Regions from separate parts of the Homo sapiens genome. Here region 2 is linked to region 1. Evidence: promoter capture Hi-C in human tissues and cell types (Jung and others, 2019). All regions are on one chromosome and are shown on one strand. Each heading gives the region's core, a stretch centred on a gene start or on the middle of the fragment in contact. The rest is flanking DNA. Distances are from core to core; before and after follow the strand shown.

The links. Contacts are between HindIII fragments. The study calls those that stand out against the background at their distance.
Region 2: a fragment that was not itself captured here is called in contact with the fragment with the promoter of ABCA2 in region 1 in 2 of the 25 tissues and cell types used here (dorsolateral prefrontal cortex and lymphoblastoid cells).

Annotation. Positions count from the first base shown.
Region 1 is chr9:137,023,066-137,029,964 of GRCh38, forward strand. It overlaps ABCA2 (ATP binding cassette subfamily A member 2), which reads right to left and starts at 5,172. Exons shown (of 49, transcript NM_001606.5): 1 at 5,010-5,172; 2 at 1,078-1,171; 3 at 773-775. The coding sequence starts at 5,075. It overlaps LINC02908 (long intergenic non-protein coding RNA 2908), which reads left to right and starts at 4,399. Exons shown (of 3, transcript NR_171031.1): 1 at 4,399-4,846. RefSeq lists enhancers at 1-107, 5,313-6,057 and a silencer at 5,250-5,429. The HindIII fragment of the contact is 11,656 bases long and covers 4,992-6,899 here.
Region 2 is chr9:136,922,401-136,930,123 of GRCh38, forward strand. It overlaps TRAF2 (TNF receptor associated factor 2), which reads left to right. Exons shown (of 11, transcript NM_021138.4): 10 at 1,452-1,600; 11 at 3,283-4,207. The coding sequence ends at 3,501. Among named protein-coding and RNA genes, the nearest start is that of FBXW5, 18 kb to the right of the region's middle. The HindIII fragment of the contact is 3,433 bases long and covers 4,318-7,723 here.

The DNA of each region.
Region 1 (6,899 bases), core at 3,922-6,421:
GGGAGAGGGCAGGGTCGGGGGTGAAAGGGGAGAGAGAGAGAGAGGAATCCAGAAGGGGAGGGAGACAGAGGCCGAGAGGAGAAATTTAGAGAAAGTCAGGAAGGAGAAGCAGCGTTAGGGAGAAGGCGGCACAGAGCCCTGGCCCCAGCTGGGCTACAGGCCAAGCGTTCTGGGGCGAATGACTCCAGCAGGTCAGAGGTCAAAGAGCCACTCACCACCCCTTCTGCCATAACTCCCAGAGCATTCCTTTCCTTTCAGCCAGTGCAGGCCCACATGCCCTGGCACTCTCCCCCCGAAAACGTTTCAGGTGTGGCACTGCCTACAGAGCCCAGGGGAGGACAAAGGACCCCCTCTGGGCAGTGACCTCTGACCTCTGGCCAGCTGGTTAGCAGAGTGAGTGCAAGAGCCTGAAGGAGTATGAAGGGAGAGTAGCCAGGCCGCTCCAGCCCCAGCCCAGGCCAGCCCAGCCTCAGCCCAGACTCAGCCCAGAAGCCGAGGCACCCCAGCCCTAGAAGGCAAGGCCAGGCAGAGAGATGCCGCCTCAGCTTGACCCAGGCACCAGCTGTGCCTTTAGGTGGCCGGGCCTTTCACTCCCTACCACCTCCCACTTCACTGCCTGCCACCCCCCATCTGGAGCCAGCTGTTCCTGAGGCCGGCAGGGGGCCCGGGAGGGCTGTTAATGCAAGCGGGGAGGGCGCTCAAGCCAGGACGGCCCATGGGCCCCCCGCAGCTGCTGCCCAGGCCAGCCAGGAGGAGGTGGCCGCTCACTTACAGACTGCATGCCAGCCGAGGACAAGAGACCATGCGGGGAGGGAGGGGGATCAAAACAGAACAGAGGAGACCAGTGAGTGCCCACATCACCAGGAAGAGGCGTTGGCATCATCATTCGCGGCCACAGGCCAGCCCCGACCTCCACAGCCCAGCCAGGAGGCACGGCCCAGGACCACACAGGGGAGCAGGCACCGCACCTCAGGGACTCCGGGAGCAGGACACCCGTGTGCAGATGTGCACACACAGCGCAGGCGTGCGAGGTGCCGCGCTCCCCCGGCTGTGCCTGGGGCCTCCTGCCGCACTCACCTTCCTTCACGGAGATGGTGGGCTTCTTCTGTCGCAGCCCCAGCAGGATAAAGAACAGCACCAGGGGGATGAAGATCTCGAAGGCCAGGACCCACTGGAAAGGGTGGGCCCAGTGAGGGATAGGACAGACCTGTGCTCGCCTAGGCCCTCCCCAGCCTCCCATAGGGCTGGCCCAGCCCAGACAGGACCACGTGCTCCCTGGGGCCAGGGAAGGTGGGCACAGGCCCTTCGGAACCACTGAAGGTCTGAGCCCCTTCCAGGGCACTGAGGGTAAGGATTGTCTGGCTCAGCAAATCAGGTTTCCCGTCCCCAGCCCACACTGGGCCTACGTGCCCTCTGAGGAGCCTCAGGGCCTACAGGGACAAATCGGCCAGCTTGTGGTCTACTCTGACCCATGTATATCCCAGCTCATCTTCTCCCTCCCCACCTCCAGGGCTACCTGGGCAAAATCTTGGGGACCATCTGAGCCACTAGCCCCGCCTACACTTCCCACACTGCCCCGGGTTCACCTTCCTCCCACTTCCTCCCCACCAATACCGGGGCCTGGGGAGATGAGGAGGCCTGGTTGAGAGGCTTGGCCTGCGCCCAGGGCCCTGAGCCTCGGAGAAGACCTGGTAAGGGGTCTAACAGCCCCAGTCCCTGAAGCAAAGGCACCTTTTTTTTTTTTTTTTTTTGAGACGGAGTCTCACTCTGTCACCCAGGCTGGAGCACAGTGGTGCGATCTCAGCTCACTGCAAGCTCCGTCCCCCAAGTTCACACCATTCTCTTGCCTCAGCCTCTCGAGTAGCTGGGACTACAGGCGCCCGCCACCATGCCCAGCTAATTTTTTGTATTTTTAGTAGAGACGGGGTTTCACCGTGTTAGCCAGGATGGTGTCGATCTCCTGACCTCGTGATCCGCCCACCTGGGCGTGAGCCACCACACCTGGCCCAAAGGCACCTCTTTCTGCCCTGTCCCCTCTCCTGACCCGGGGCAGCCAGTCTTGGGCCTTGGAGCTCAGTTTCCCCAGGTCGGCTCCTGCTAACCCAGGCTGGGCACCAAGGTGAGCCCTAGTGGGACCTGCGTGGAGTGAGAAAGAGGTGCTTTGCTCACTTCACCTGAAAACCAAGGACTTTACCGGTTCTTGTGTCCCAGCCCCCAGCTCAGGGAGGAGGAGGAGCTTGAGCCAGCTACCCTCCAGAGAGCCCTCGGCAGACCAGCCCTCTCTGAGACCCACAGGACAGAGGGGCCCTGCCCTCCCTAGCCCGAGGGCGAGCACCCAGCTCGGAGGCATCCTTTGTCCTCATCCCCATCCCAAAACCCTTCAGAGCCCCCAGTGTGCTGTGTGGCCCGGGCCGAGTCCCCGGTCCCTGGGGTGGGGGCGGCTGCTGTGTTTACTGTGCTTGGACAATAGGGCTTTGTGGCCAGGAACATCATGCTGTGGGTGTCCCATGCCCGCCCCAGCCCGTGCCAGCCTCCACCCGCTCCCTGAGCCAGGACGGAGCCCAGGGTTCGCCAAGGCACTGTGGGCACCAACAGGCACCAGGGCGAGGGTGGCTGCAGGAGTGAGGCAATGTCAGAGGCAGGGGTCACAGCACGGGGCGCCAGCCCCGCCCACACCCGGCCTGCTATGGGCACTGTAACTGCAGCAACAGGCCCGGCTGCCTCCCCCATTGCTATAGCAACGGCCTCGCACGAGCTACTGGGAGGAGGAGGAGAGTCCTGGCTGGCAGGCGGCGGGCGCCACAGCAGCATCTGGTTACAGGCGGCAGCACAGGTCTAGCACGCCCTGGGTGCCCCACACAGGTGCCTCCAGGTGGCCCAACCTCCGTCCCTCGAGACCAGCCCAGTGCCTTCACATCGCCTGGAGGCCTAGATGCCTTCTCTGGGCATGACCCCTCCCTGTAGCTCCCGCCTACTGTGTCGGGGGGAGAACAGGTGAGACCCGAGGGTGGCGCTGCCATCTGCCATCCCAGTGACTTCATGACAGTGACCCTGTCCCTGCACCAAGAGCAGCCTGTAGCCCAAGGGTAGACCCAAGTCCAGCTAACTAAGAGGAGATAGGCCACACTCACAGACAGGGAAACTGAGGCAAAGAGCTTGGAGGAGCCTGCTAGCAGCACAGAGGTCCTTGGCACCCACCCTCCAGACCCTGAGCTCTGCCCAGGGTGGAGCTCTGCCCAGGGTGCACCCCTGCCCCAGCAGGGCGCATGGCACACAGGGCAAACCTCTGTCATCCAAGCTTGGCCCCAAGAGTCCAGCTCTGATGTCCAAGATCCTTCCCAGGAAAGTGGGGACCCAGCAGGAGTGTGCCCAGTGTCCAGCCAGCCCCAGCCCCACATCACAAGCCTGGCAAGGACTCAGCCTCCCTGGGGGAAACAGTTCCCCACCTGCTCCAGCCATGGGCTAAGGACCTCCACTGTGGCCCAGTGGGCCTCTGGGAGCCCTGTAGGGTGGGGACCCAAAAAGGTCCTGGGGGGCAGCCCAAACCAGCAGCTGGGAGTCACTCTTGCGGTCAGGACAGTGCACACCTCCCACCTGCTTGCCAGCTGCCCTCATAGGCCACACTCCCTTCCCTGAGCATTGTCCCCACTGGAACAGGGGCCACCATTCCAGCCTCTGCTCCCAAGCCCAGTGGGGACCTTCCTGACAACCACCCCCGGGGACTAATACTAATGCATGCCACATGCCACATCCCTGTTCCCTTGGCCCTGCTCTGCTGTCCCCAGTGACTCAATGCCAGGGGCTGCAGGCCTGATCCATGGGACCCCACTCAGCCAGCTCCAGGTGCCTGGCCAGGGCATGTACCTAACCCAGGCTCCCCGCCAAGGCCAGGTGCCCAGGGGAATTCTGCCAGCCATGGTGATGATGGCCACCCCAGCTGACTGCAGCCTGGGTTTCCTGCAGTGCATGTTGAAAGATAAACAGGCACGGACTGGTGCAGCCCAAGGGGTCCCGCCCGGGCCCTGGCTGGGCAAGAGGATGTCTGCCTTAGGCCCCCACCTGCTCTGAGCCCTGGCCTGGACAATCCCAAGGGCCTTCAGAAACCTAAGCTGGTCCAGGCCTGTGGCCTGGGAGGTGTCCCTTCCCTTCCCAGGCTGGAGCCAAGCTGGCCAGCTGGGGGTATGGCAGGACACCCATATCCCCAAGCCCCTCGCTCCACGAAGGACTTCTGTCCCTGACAGCCATGTGTCCTGCACCCTCAGGTCCACTGGCTGCCCAGGCAGTGCTGGGAAAGCCGGGGTTCACAGCTCCAAACAGTAGACCCAGCCCCCAGAGCAGGTGGGGGGACCAGGAGGCAACAGAGTGGATCAGGCTCGGGGAGAACTGACCCCAAAGGACAAATGGGTGCAGAGATTCAGGCTGGCCAAGGCTGGCACAAGGACATTCCCAGTGGCGAGAGCATGAGCAAGGGTCACGGATGTGCCAGGAGGGGAGGCGGAGAGATGCCTGGGACCAACCTCTATGGCAGGCCGCGGCCCAAGGGCAGGGGAGGGGTGGACGGAGGGAAGGGACAGGGTCTCCTCCGGGACCCCAGGGAGGCTGGGCCCAAGGACCATGGAGCCTCGCAGCTGAATGGAGCCCCCCAGGCCTGCCTTCTGTCCTGGGAACCAGGGCCTCCCTCGAGCCAGAGTCCTGAGCGCCGCTTGCCCCCCGCCCACAGCGGCCCCAGCGAGCGCGCTGCAGAGGGCGCGGGTGCCGTGACTCAGCCGAGCACCGCGATGTCAGCGGACGCGGGACCGGACTGGACACGACCGAGCCACCTCCCCGGAGGCCGCAGCGCCGGCAGGCGAGGGCAGGGCCCGGCGGGGAGGGGGCTCGGGCCCGCGCCGCCCCCAGCGCCCGCCGGGGTCTGCGCGCGCCCGGCCGTCCGCACGTGCGCGCGGGGAGCGCGCCTCTGGCCGCGGTGCGCGCGGCCTCGGGCTGAGGGCGGGCGCGTGGGGTGGGCTCACCGGGCTCCGGCGTTTGAGCGTCACGTTCTTCCAGAGCAGCAGCTGCAGCTGGTGCAGGAAGCCCATGGCGGGGCCACGCTCCGCCGCCTCAGCGCCGCGGCCCGCTCCTCTGCGCGCCCCGCCGGGCCCCGCAGCCCGCCGCGCCGCTGGGCATCGCCCGCGCGGGGGCGGGGCGCTCGGGCGTCCGGGACCCGATCCGCGCTGGCTCCGCCCCGGCGGCCGCGGCGACAGCGACTCTGCCCGCGCCCCGCCCGCCCCCGCTTAAAGGCGCCGCGCTCCGTCCGCGCCCGCCAGGAGGCGCCCGCCGCCCGCGCCGCGCCCGGGACCGACCCGGGCCCGAGACCCTGCGCGCGCCGCCGCCGGGAAGCCTCCGGGCCGCCCCTCGCCGGGCGTCACGCGACGCGCCCACATCGAATCCGAGACCCCGGCTTAGCCTTCGTAGGCCGGGGGACCCTCGGGCGCTGCGCTCTTCTCCCAGAGGCATCCGGCTGCGCCCACCGCGCTGGCGACTCTGCAGAGGCGCCCCAAGCCTTCACTGTCCCCGGGGCGCGCCGAGCGGACGCTGGCGAGGGGCCAGCTCACCCCCGTAAGGGTCTCCTGTGTGCTTTGTAAACCAGCACTTGGAGTCCAGGTGGTGCCCACCTGGAAGGGAGGCAGGGCGGCCAGGTGGGTCCGTCCCGCGATTCCGAGCAGCCAGCGGAAGGGGGGAAACTCGAGGCCCCAGGAACGCTCGCCGTGAGCGGAGCAGGCAGGGGACCGAGGCGGCCCCTGCTGCACGCGGCTCGTTTTTCTCCCCATATTCGGGCGAGTCTGGTCTCTGCACAGGGAGTTCGGGATCAGGCGGTTCTGCGGCTGTGGCTTGGCACCTGCTGGGGCGCCCCGGGAGGTGGGGCAGTTCCTCCGCGTGGCCTGTAGAGAGCGACAGAGGACAGGCTGACCCCATGGGTGGCTCTGACGGCGCTTCCCAGACTCAGTTTCCCCCCTGTGAATGGGGTGGAGTAGCGCTGTGTGGTGTCCAGTGTCAGGGCGCACATAGAAGGCGCATCCTCAAGTGAATGAAGACCTCCGAGGCCACAGCTCCCCACTCCTCCCAGCTCCTTTGCAGCAGGAAGGTGACCCTGGGCTAGTGAGTGAGGGATCAGCTTCCCACCCCAGCCCGCAGCCTCAAGGCACTTGCTTTTCTCTGCTCAGTCCACAGGGCTGGGTCAGGGCAGGAAGCTACCAGCAGGTCTTTCCCACAAGCCACAGCCATGGGTGAGGGGGGCTTCCTGCCCTCAACCTGCCCACCCCTACCTGGGGTAGGGACAAGCCCTGTGCCCCAGCCCCGGGGGCTTAGCCTGTTGGGGCCCTGGTCAGCACCACCCGTGGGTTGGCCTCTCTCCTCCTCGCCCCACTCTCCACCGTCCACTACAGGGGCTCCCTGGCTGCAGCCGCATCCCCAGTGCCTCCCCAGCACTGGCCACCAGAGGGAGCTACAAGGCACAGGTCAGACCCTGTCACCCCAGACACCCTCCAGCCTGCGGGCCTGGGAGATGGGCGATTTCAGCCTGGCCAGGCCTCTGACGTCCGTTCCCTACTCTTCCCCAACCTTGGCCTGTTTTGGTTTTTGTTTTGAGACAGGGTCTCATTCTGTTGCCCAGGCTGGAGTGCTGTGGTGTGATCACGGCTCACTGAAGCTTCAACCTCCTGGGCTCAAGCCATCCTCTCACCTCAGTATCCCAAGTAGCTGAGACCACAAGCGTGAGCCACCACGCCCTGCTAATTCTTGTATTTTTGGTAGAGATGAGATTTCACTACACTGCCCAGGCTGGTCTCGAACTCCTGGGCTCATCGCCTTGGCCTTTTGGGGGACACAGAAGGCTCTCTGATAAGGGGCCGTCTGGCGGAGGC
Region 2 (7,723 bases), core at 4,784-7,283, 100 kb before region 1:
TATATGCTGGGAGCTCTGCACTAAGCGTTGGGTGAAGGGTCAGCATTGTGGAGGCCCTGCCACGGAGGTGGTCTTCTTGGGAGCTGCACTCAGGCAAGAGGACCTGTTTGTGTGGAACATCTGCTTTAAGCAATGCTGGTGAACACAGCTTGTGTGCGGCACGCGTGCAGGCTGAGGACAGGCAGAATGGGCCTGGGGGCACGGTGGAGGACGAGGATGGGGAGGATGGGCCTGGGGGCACGGTGGAGGACGAGGATGGGGAGGATGGGCCTGGGGGCGTGTGGAGGACAGGGATGGGGAGGATGGGCCTGGGCACGTGGTGGAGGACGGGGACGGGGAGGATGGGCCTGGGCATGTGGTGGAGGACTAGGACGGGGGGAGGATGGGCCTGGGGGCATGTGGAGGACGAGGATGGGGAGGATGGGTCTGGGGGCACGTGGTGGAGGACGAGGATGGGGAGGATGGGCCTGGGGGCACGAGGTGGAGAGGACTAGGACAGGGAGGATGGGCTTGGGGGCACGCGGTGGAGGACGAGGATGGGGAGGATGGGCCTGGGGGCACGCGGTGGAGGACGAGGACGGAAGGGTGGTCCTGGTGCTGCCACAGTGGGGTCCCTGCGTGCAGACCTTTGCACACAGTGTTCTGTCATGTGACTTGGAAAGCAGCCTCTGCCGGGTTCTGGCTGTCACTCACGTCTGTGTCTTGTTGGGTGGGAAGGAAGTCGACTCTTCTTGTTTTGGGGTTCACTCTAGCCAGTGCCTCTTCTGAGGCAGGCTTGGGGCCCAACCTAAGCCCTGGGCCGGTCAGGGCTCCCTCTGTGGCTCTGCCGAGGTCCCAACCACTGCATTTAGTGGATCTCGCCATGTGGCTCTGCTCATCTTCTTAAGTTTTGGGGGTTACATTTGGGATTCTTAGAAATGCTTTTTCTGGCTGGGCACAGTGGCTCACACCTGTAATCCCAGCACTTTGTGAGGCCAACACGTGTGGATCGCCTGAGGGCAGGAGTTTGAGACCATCCTGGCCAACATGGTAAAACCCCATCTCTACTAAAAATACAAAAATTAGCCAGGTGTGGTGTCGAGCGTCTGTAATCTCAGCTACTCAGGAGGCTGAGGCAGGAGAATCGCTTGATCCCAGGAGGTGGAGGTTGCAGTGAGCTGAGATTGCGCCACTGCACTCAGCCTGGGCAACAAGAGTGAGACTCCATCTCAAAAAAAAAAAAAAAAAAAAAAAAACTTTTTCTAAGTACTACCTTTTTTTTTGTAATGAAATTTGTTTTCATTGGAAACTAACTGCATAGTTTGAGGGAAAAAAAACTTTTCTTTGCACCCCAGAACCTGAATGTTTCTTTGTAGGTGTTTTTGTCCCTGGGGGAGGGCAGCCAGGCAGGAAGAGCCCTGCCCCGCCCTTGCTGAGTGTCAGCTCACCAGGCACCCCTCCTGCCTCCCCAGCCTTCTACACCAGCAGGTACGGCTACAAGATGTGTCTGCGTATCTACCTGAACGGCGACGGCACCGGGCGAGGAACACACCTGTCCCTCTTCTTTGTGGTGATGAAGGGCCCGAATGACGCCCTGCTGCGGTGGCCCTTCAACCAGAAGGTGAGGCCGTCCCTGCAGGCTTCGCTAGGGCCGCACCTGGGAGTCCCTCTGGGCAGTGCAGCTTCTGTGGTGCAGGGTTGTGCGGGACAAGGTGGCTTGGGCTCGCTGGACCAGGTGTCTGCAGCAGGCACGTCACCCTGTGATGCTGTGTCACGCGGTGGAGAGCTCTGGCAGTTTGTTGTTTCCATGATTTCTGAGCACTGGTCCGTGACACAAGCACCTGGCTTCCTGACCTGTCAGATAAATATAAATATGACTAAGAAAAAGCACAAGGCCGAGTGGGCGGGGAGTATGTATCCCTGTGATCCCAGCACTTTGGGAGGCTGAGGTGGGAGGATTGCTTGAACCCAGGAGTTTGAGATCAGCCTGGGCAACATAGTGAGAACCCATGTCTACAAAAAAAATAGAAAAATTAGCCGGGCATGGTGGTGTGCACCTGTATTCCCAGCTATTCGGGAGGCTAAGGCAGGAGCATTGCTTGAGCCCAGTAGGTTGAGGCTGCAGTGAGCCGAGATCACGCTACTGCACTGCAGCCTGGGCAACAGAGCAAGAGGGGGCTCTAAATAAATGAACAAAAGGACAAAGCACAAAATAATGCAAGTTTGGGGGTGCCCAGCTTTAGCCCAGGACTCCAGATGTTGATGGGCATCTGGACCAGTAGTTTGAAAACCCTGCCCTGGAGAGAGAGTGCAGAGGAAGGAACACAGCTTCGGAGCCCTCTTCGTCGGAGGTGTCATTTATTTATTTACTTATTGTTAAGACGGAGTCTTGCTCTGTCGCCCAGGCTGGAGTGCAGTGGCATGATCTCGGCTCACTGCAACCTCCCCTCCTGGGTTCAAGCGATTCTCCTGCCTCAGCCTCCTGAGTAGCTGGGACTACAGGCATGCACCACCACGCCCAGCTAATTTTTGTATTTTTAGTAGAGATGGGGTTTCTCCATGTTGGCCAGGCTGGTCTTGATCTCCTGACCTTGTGATCCGCCCACCTTGGCCTCCCAAAGTGCTGGGATTGTAGGCGTGAGCCACTGTGCCTGGCCTATTTTGAAAATCAGAATCTATTATTTTGTGGAATTGAAGATGCAGAGACTAGACTGGAATGAGAGAAGGTCCCTTCCTTTTGCCACAGTTGGCCCAGACTTGCTACTTCCCCCACCCCCTATAGCTAGTGGAGTAGGCAGAGCAGAGTTGGGTGGGGGAGGGGGTGTGGAGGGCCCACAGGCCCTTGTCTGTCCTGGGGCATCCAGGTTCACAGTCCTGACAGAGGCAGACTCAGGTTCTCCCTGAAAAGTGCTCTTCACGAGTGGGCAGTGGGTGCTTCATGATCTCTTTGGCAAGAAAATGTCTTTGCCAGATGTGTTATTTTTTGCATTTTCCTAATAATAATTCAAGTTCAGGAGTGGTAAGCTTTAGTCTAGGACTCCAGATGTCAGTGGACAGGAAAGGCCAGAATGGACACAGATTCCCCAGAGAGAAGCGGAATGCCGGTGGCTGGGGAGGGCTGGGGAGCCCGGGCGCTGTGGCAGGAGCAAGGCCGCCCACCACGTGGTCTCGGCTGGGCCTCAGCCTCTGGCCTGGGTCCTGGGATGGCCTCCTGCTGGTGGCCCTGCCAGTGTCCAGACCCTCGGGAGCCAGAGAGAGACGGCCCACAGACCTGTGTCCCCTCCCTGGGGCTCTCTCCTCCAGGTGACCTTAATGCTGCTCGACCAGAATAACCGGGAGCACGTGATTGACGCCTTCAGGCCCGACGTGACTTCATCCTCTTTTCAGAGGCCAGTCAACGACATGAACATCGCAAGCGGCTGCCCCCTCTTCTGCCCCGTCTCCAAGATGGAGGCAAAGAATTCCTACGTGCGGGACGATGCCATCTTCATCAAGGCCATTGTGGACCTGACAGGGCTCTAACTGCCCCCTACTGGTGTCTGGGGGTTGGGGGCAGCCAGGCACAGCCGGCTCACGGAGGGGCCACCACGCTGGGCCAGGGTCTCACTGTACAAGTGGGCAGGGGCCGCGCTTGGGCGCTTGGGAGGGTGTCGGCCTGCAGCCAAGTTCACTGTCACGGGGGAAGGAGCCACCAGCCAGTCCTCAGATTTCAGAGACTGCGGAGGGGCTTGGCAGACGGTCTTAGCCAAGGGCTGTGGTGGCATTGGCCGAGGGTCTTCGGGTGCTTCCCAGCACAAGCTGCCCTTGCTGTCCTGTGCAGTGAAGGGAGAGGCCCTGGGTGGGGGACACTCAGAGTGGGAGCACATCCCAGCAGTGCCCATGTAGCAGGAGCACAGTGGATGGCCTTGTGTCCCTCGGGCATGACAGGCAGAAACGAGGGCTGCTCCAGGAGAAGGGCCTCCTGCTGGCCAGAGCAAGGAAGGCTGAGCAGCTTGGTTCTCCCCTCTGGCCCCTGGAGAGAAGGGAGCATTCCTAGACCCCTGGGTGCTTGTCTGCACAGAGCTCTGGTCTGTGCCACCTTGGCCAGGCTGGCTGTGGGAGAGGGTCTGGTCCCACGCCGCCTCTGCTCAGACCACTGTGTGGGAGGTGCACAGCACAGCCTGCGGGTAAAGTGTGAGAGCTTGCCATCCAGCTCACGAAGACAGAGTTATTAAACCATTCAAATCTCTGTGGTCAGTGGCATCCATTTGATTCCAGGTTGCCTGCGGCTTCCAGCCTTGGCAGTGGTGACCCTCTGCGGGTCCTCCTGGCCTCTCCTCTCACAGACCCCTCCCCACGGGGTGCCTAGCCCCTGCCTGCTTCTCTAGCTAGCCAGGCTGTGTTCTCTGTTCCTCACCTGATGTAAGCTCCCTCTTCTCGAGCCTTGTTCCCTCTTCTGGAATGTTCTTCCCTGTCCATCTCCTCTCCTGGGCCTCCCCAGGGACTCCTGTGAGAGCAGAATGAGGATGAGCCAGCCCTGGTCCTGCCTTTCTGTGCACAGGCTCCACCGAGCATCCTGGCTGCACCCGGGGGGTCCTGGCCACACCGAGGGTCCTGGCTGCACCGCCCCTGTGGTGTGTTTTTGGGACAGTGCAGGCAGGCGTAGGCACGGCTTCACACTCGGTGTCAGGGCAGCCGTGCTGGGACCTACTGGGCATCTGTATCGGGGTCCAGGATAAAGTGCTGTCCCCTCTCGACGTCTTCACGCACTGCTGTAGTTTGAGAAGTTGACCACAGAAAAGTACAGAAAATAACTCAGGCACGGAGCTGACCGACGGGCATTGTCTGTGTTCCGTGAGTGTGTACTGGGCCTAAAGAGCAAGCATTGCAGAGCCCTGCTGTTCCCTTTCCCGGCCTCACCTCAGCTCCCCAGGCCACGTGGCGGGAATTGAGGCGTTCCGGTTCTCTTTGGGCTTTAGAATTTTGCATCTGTACGTTTCTGTATTCACAAATAAGAATATTGCATTAAAAATGCAGAAACCATCCACTGGGTCAGCTGCAGGTAGCTGGGCTTTTGACTCAGCCTGGCTACTTTTAATGCATCTTGTGCTGGGCACTCTACATGGTGGATTCTGACTGCCGTGTGTGAGTTCCCTAGAGAGCACCTTCCAGTCTCTTCCCGTGTCTTCAGGGTTTGGTGACTGGAGATAGCCAGACCTGCTCTCGTGGGTCTCCTGTCAACCTGGAAGGAGGGTTGGTGGTTTCTAGGCCTCCCCTTTTTAGCAGTTGCCAGCTTGCTTTGCAGAGGGGCTGCATCCGGTCCTTCCACCAGCACCAGGGGGAGGGTTCCCATCACTCCCATCCCTCCCATCCCTGCCCGTGCTTCGTGTTGTTGGAATTGAGATGCTGCAGCGTGCTGTGTGTGAAGTGAAGTGGCATCGCTGTCACGTGCGTTTCTCTGATGACTCGGCGGAGTCAGGCGTCTTTACCACGCTTACCTCTCCCTTGGATTCTCTCCCGTGCGAATTGCCTGTTGATGTCTTTTTCTCATTTTTCTTCTGGTTGTTGGTCTGGGTCTTATTCTGCTGGTTGGTAGGAGTTCCTGATATTCCTGATTACGGATTCTCGGTTGTGTCTTTGAACTGCGTTTCTGTTGCTCCTGATGTGCAGAAGCTTAAGCCTTACACATGATCAGCTGATCTTATCCTTTATGAATGGTGCTATTTCCGACCGACTCAGAACATCCTGACCTTCCCTGAGGCTGGAAACCACTGTCATGTTTTCGTCTAATGATTGTGAAGTTTTGTCTTTAACATACTGGGCTTCTATATTTGGGGATTTGTTTGTATGTGACAGGTTTTGCTGGGTCACTGCAGTTTGTTAAAACAGATTGATTGAGGTCATCTCTTCTCACTTAAAACGAAATGGAACTGTGAAATGAGAGGAATGGACCAAAAAAAAATCCTCCCCCAGGGACAAAGATGGGGAAGAAGCCAACATCCCACAAAGGATTTGAACCCATTTTGGAAGGTGGGAAGTGGGTTGGTGGGTGGCTGCTGAGCAGAAGAGGGCTGAGGGGGAAGCTGGCCACACCGGGAGGCCCTGGCATGGAGCAGAGTCTAAAAGTGGATCAACTGAAAGACGGGGCAGAGCAGCTACCTTGGAGGTCCTTTGCCAGAGCAGCCGGATGGTCCTCCTGGCCCTCACCTCCCTGCAGTGGAGATGGAGGTCTGGAGAACCTGGGGAAGAGCTGAGGACCGCACCCCCCACGCAGTGAGAGCAGCATCGGGCTCCAGGCTGCAGAAGGGGCAGAGGTCTGCACTCGGAACAATTCCCTAGGCACTGGCTGCCACACCAAGAGGCTCCCACGAAGCAGACCAAGGCCCTTGAGGGACAAAATGCTCTGGAGCAGCCCCGTGGGCAGGCCTGGCCCAGCCGCCTCATGGCCTTCTGGGGAAGTGACAGGCTCTGTGCAAACCCACAGAGGTACCATCGTCACTACCTAATTTTGGGACATTTCATCACCCTGCAGAGAAACCTTCCCTTAGCAGTCACTGTTCCCTCCCGCTCAGCCCCTGACAGCCAGCCATAAACCTACCTTCTGTCTCTATAGATTTGCCTACTCAGGACATTCATGTGAATGTGGCCTTTGCTTTTACTCAGCAAGATATTTTCATGGTTCCTGTGTGTTGCAGCATGCATTGGAGTTTCATTCCTTCTAATGGCTGAATAATCTCTTGTATGGATGCACCACACCTTATTTATCCATTCATCCGTTGCTGGACATTTGGGTGGTTTCTACTTTTTGGCTACTCTGAAAATGCTGCTGTGAACATTTGTGAACAAGTTTTTATGGGGACGTGTATTTGTTTTCATTTCTCTTGAATATTTATACCGAGGAGTAGAGCTGCTGGGCCGCTTGTTCAGCTCTTGGAGGAATTGCCGAACTTTTGTGTCACCTTACATCTCCCTCAGGAAGTGTTTTTTTTTTTTTTTTTTTTTTTTGAGACGGAATCTCGTTCTGTCTTCCTGGCTGGAATACAATGGCACAATCTCGGCTCACTGCAGCCTCCGCCTCCCAGGTTCAAGCAATTCTCCTGCCTCAGCTTCCTGAGTAGCTGGGATTACAGCTGTGAGCCACCACGCCTGGCTAATTTTTGTATTTTTAGTAGAGACAGGGCTTTACCATGTTGGCCAGGCTGGTCTCGAACTGCTGACCTCAGGTGATCTGCCCACCTCAGCCTCCCAAAGTGCTGGGATTGCAGGTGTTGCACCTGGCCCCTAATAACATTTTTAAATTTCACGTAGTAAAATTGATTTGTTCTTTTGTTTTGTTCATGGAACATTCAATTCCATGGATGTTCACACCTGTGCAGATGTGGGTAAGCACCATACCTGGGAGACAGGCGAGCCCTGCCATCTCAGAAGACTGTTCCACTTTCCCCATAGTCACCACCCCGACCCGTGGCAGCCACACACCTGTCCTCCACCACTGTAGTTATGTCTTTCCAAGAAGGTCCCATAATGGAGTCCTACAATGCGTGGCTGGGAGCAGCGAGATCTGCAGAACGCCGCTGAGACTGATCAGGATGCGTGCATCAGCATTTGTTTTCTCTCTTTTTTTTTTGTTTTTTTTGGAGTAGTGCTCTATGGATGGATCAGTTTGTCTCGTCACCTGTTGAAGGGTGTTTGGGTTGTTTCTAATGTTTTGCAGGTCTGAATAGAGCTGCTATAAACATTTGTGTACAGGTTGTTGAGCAAGTTT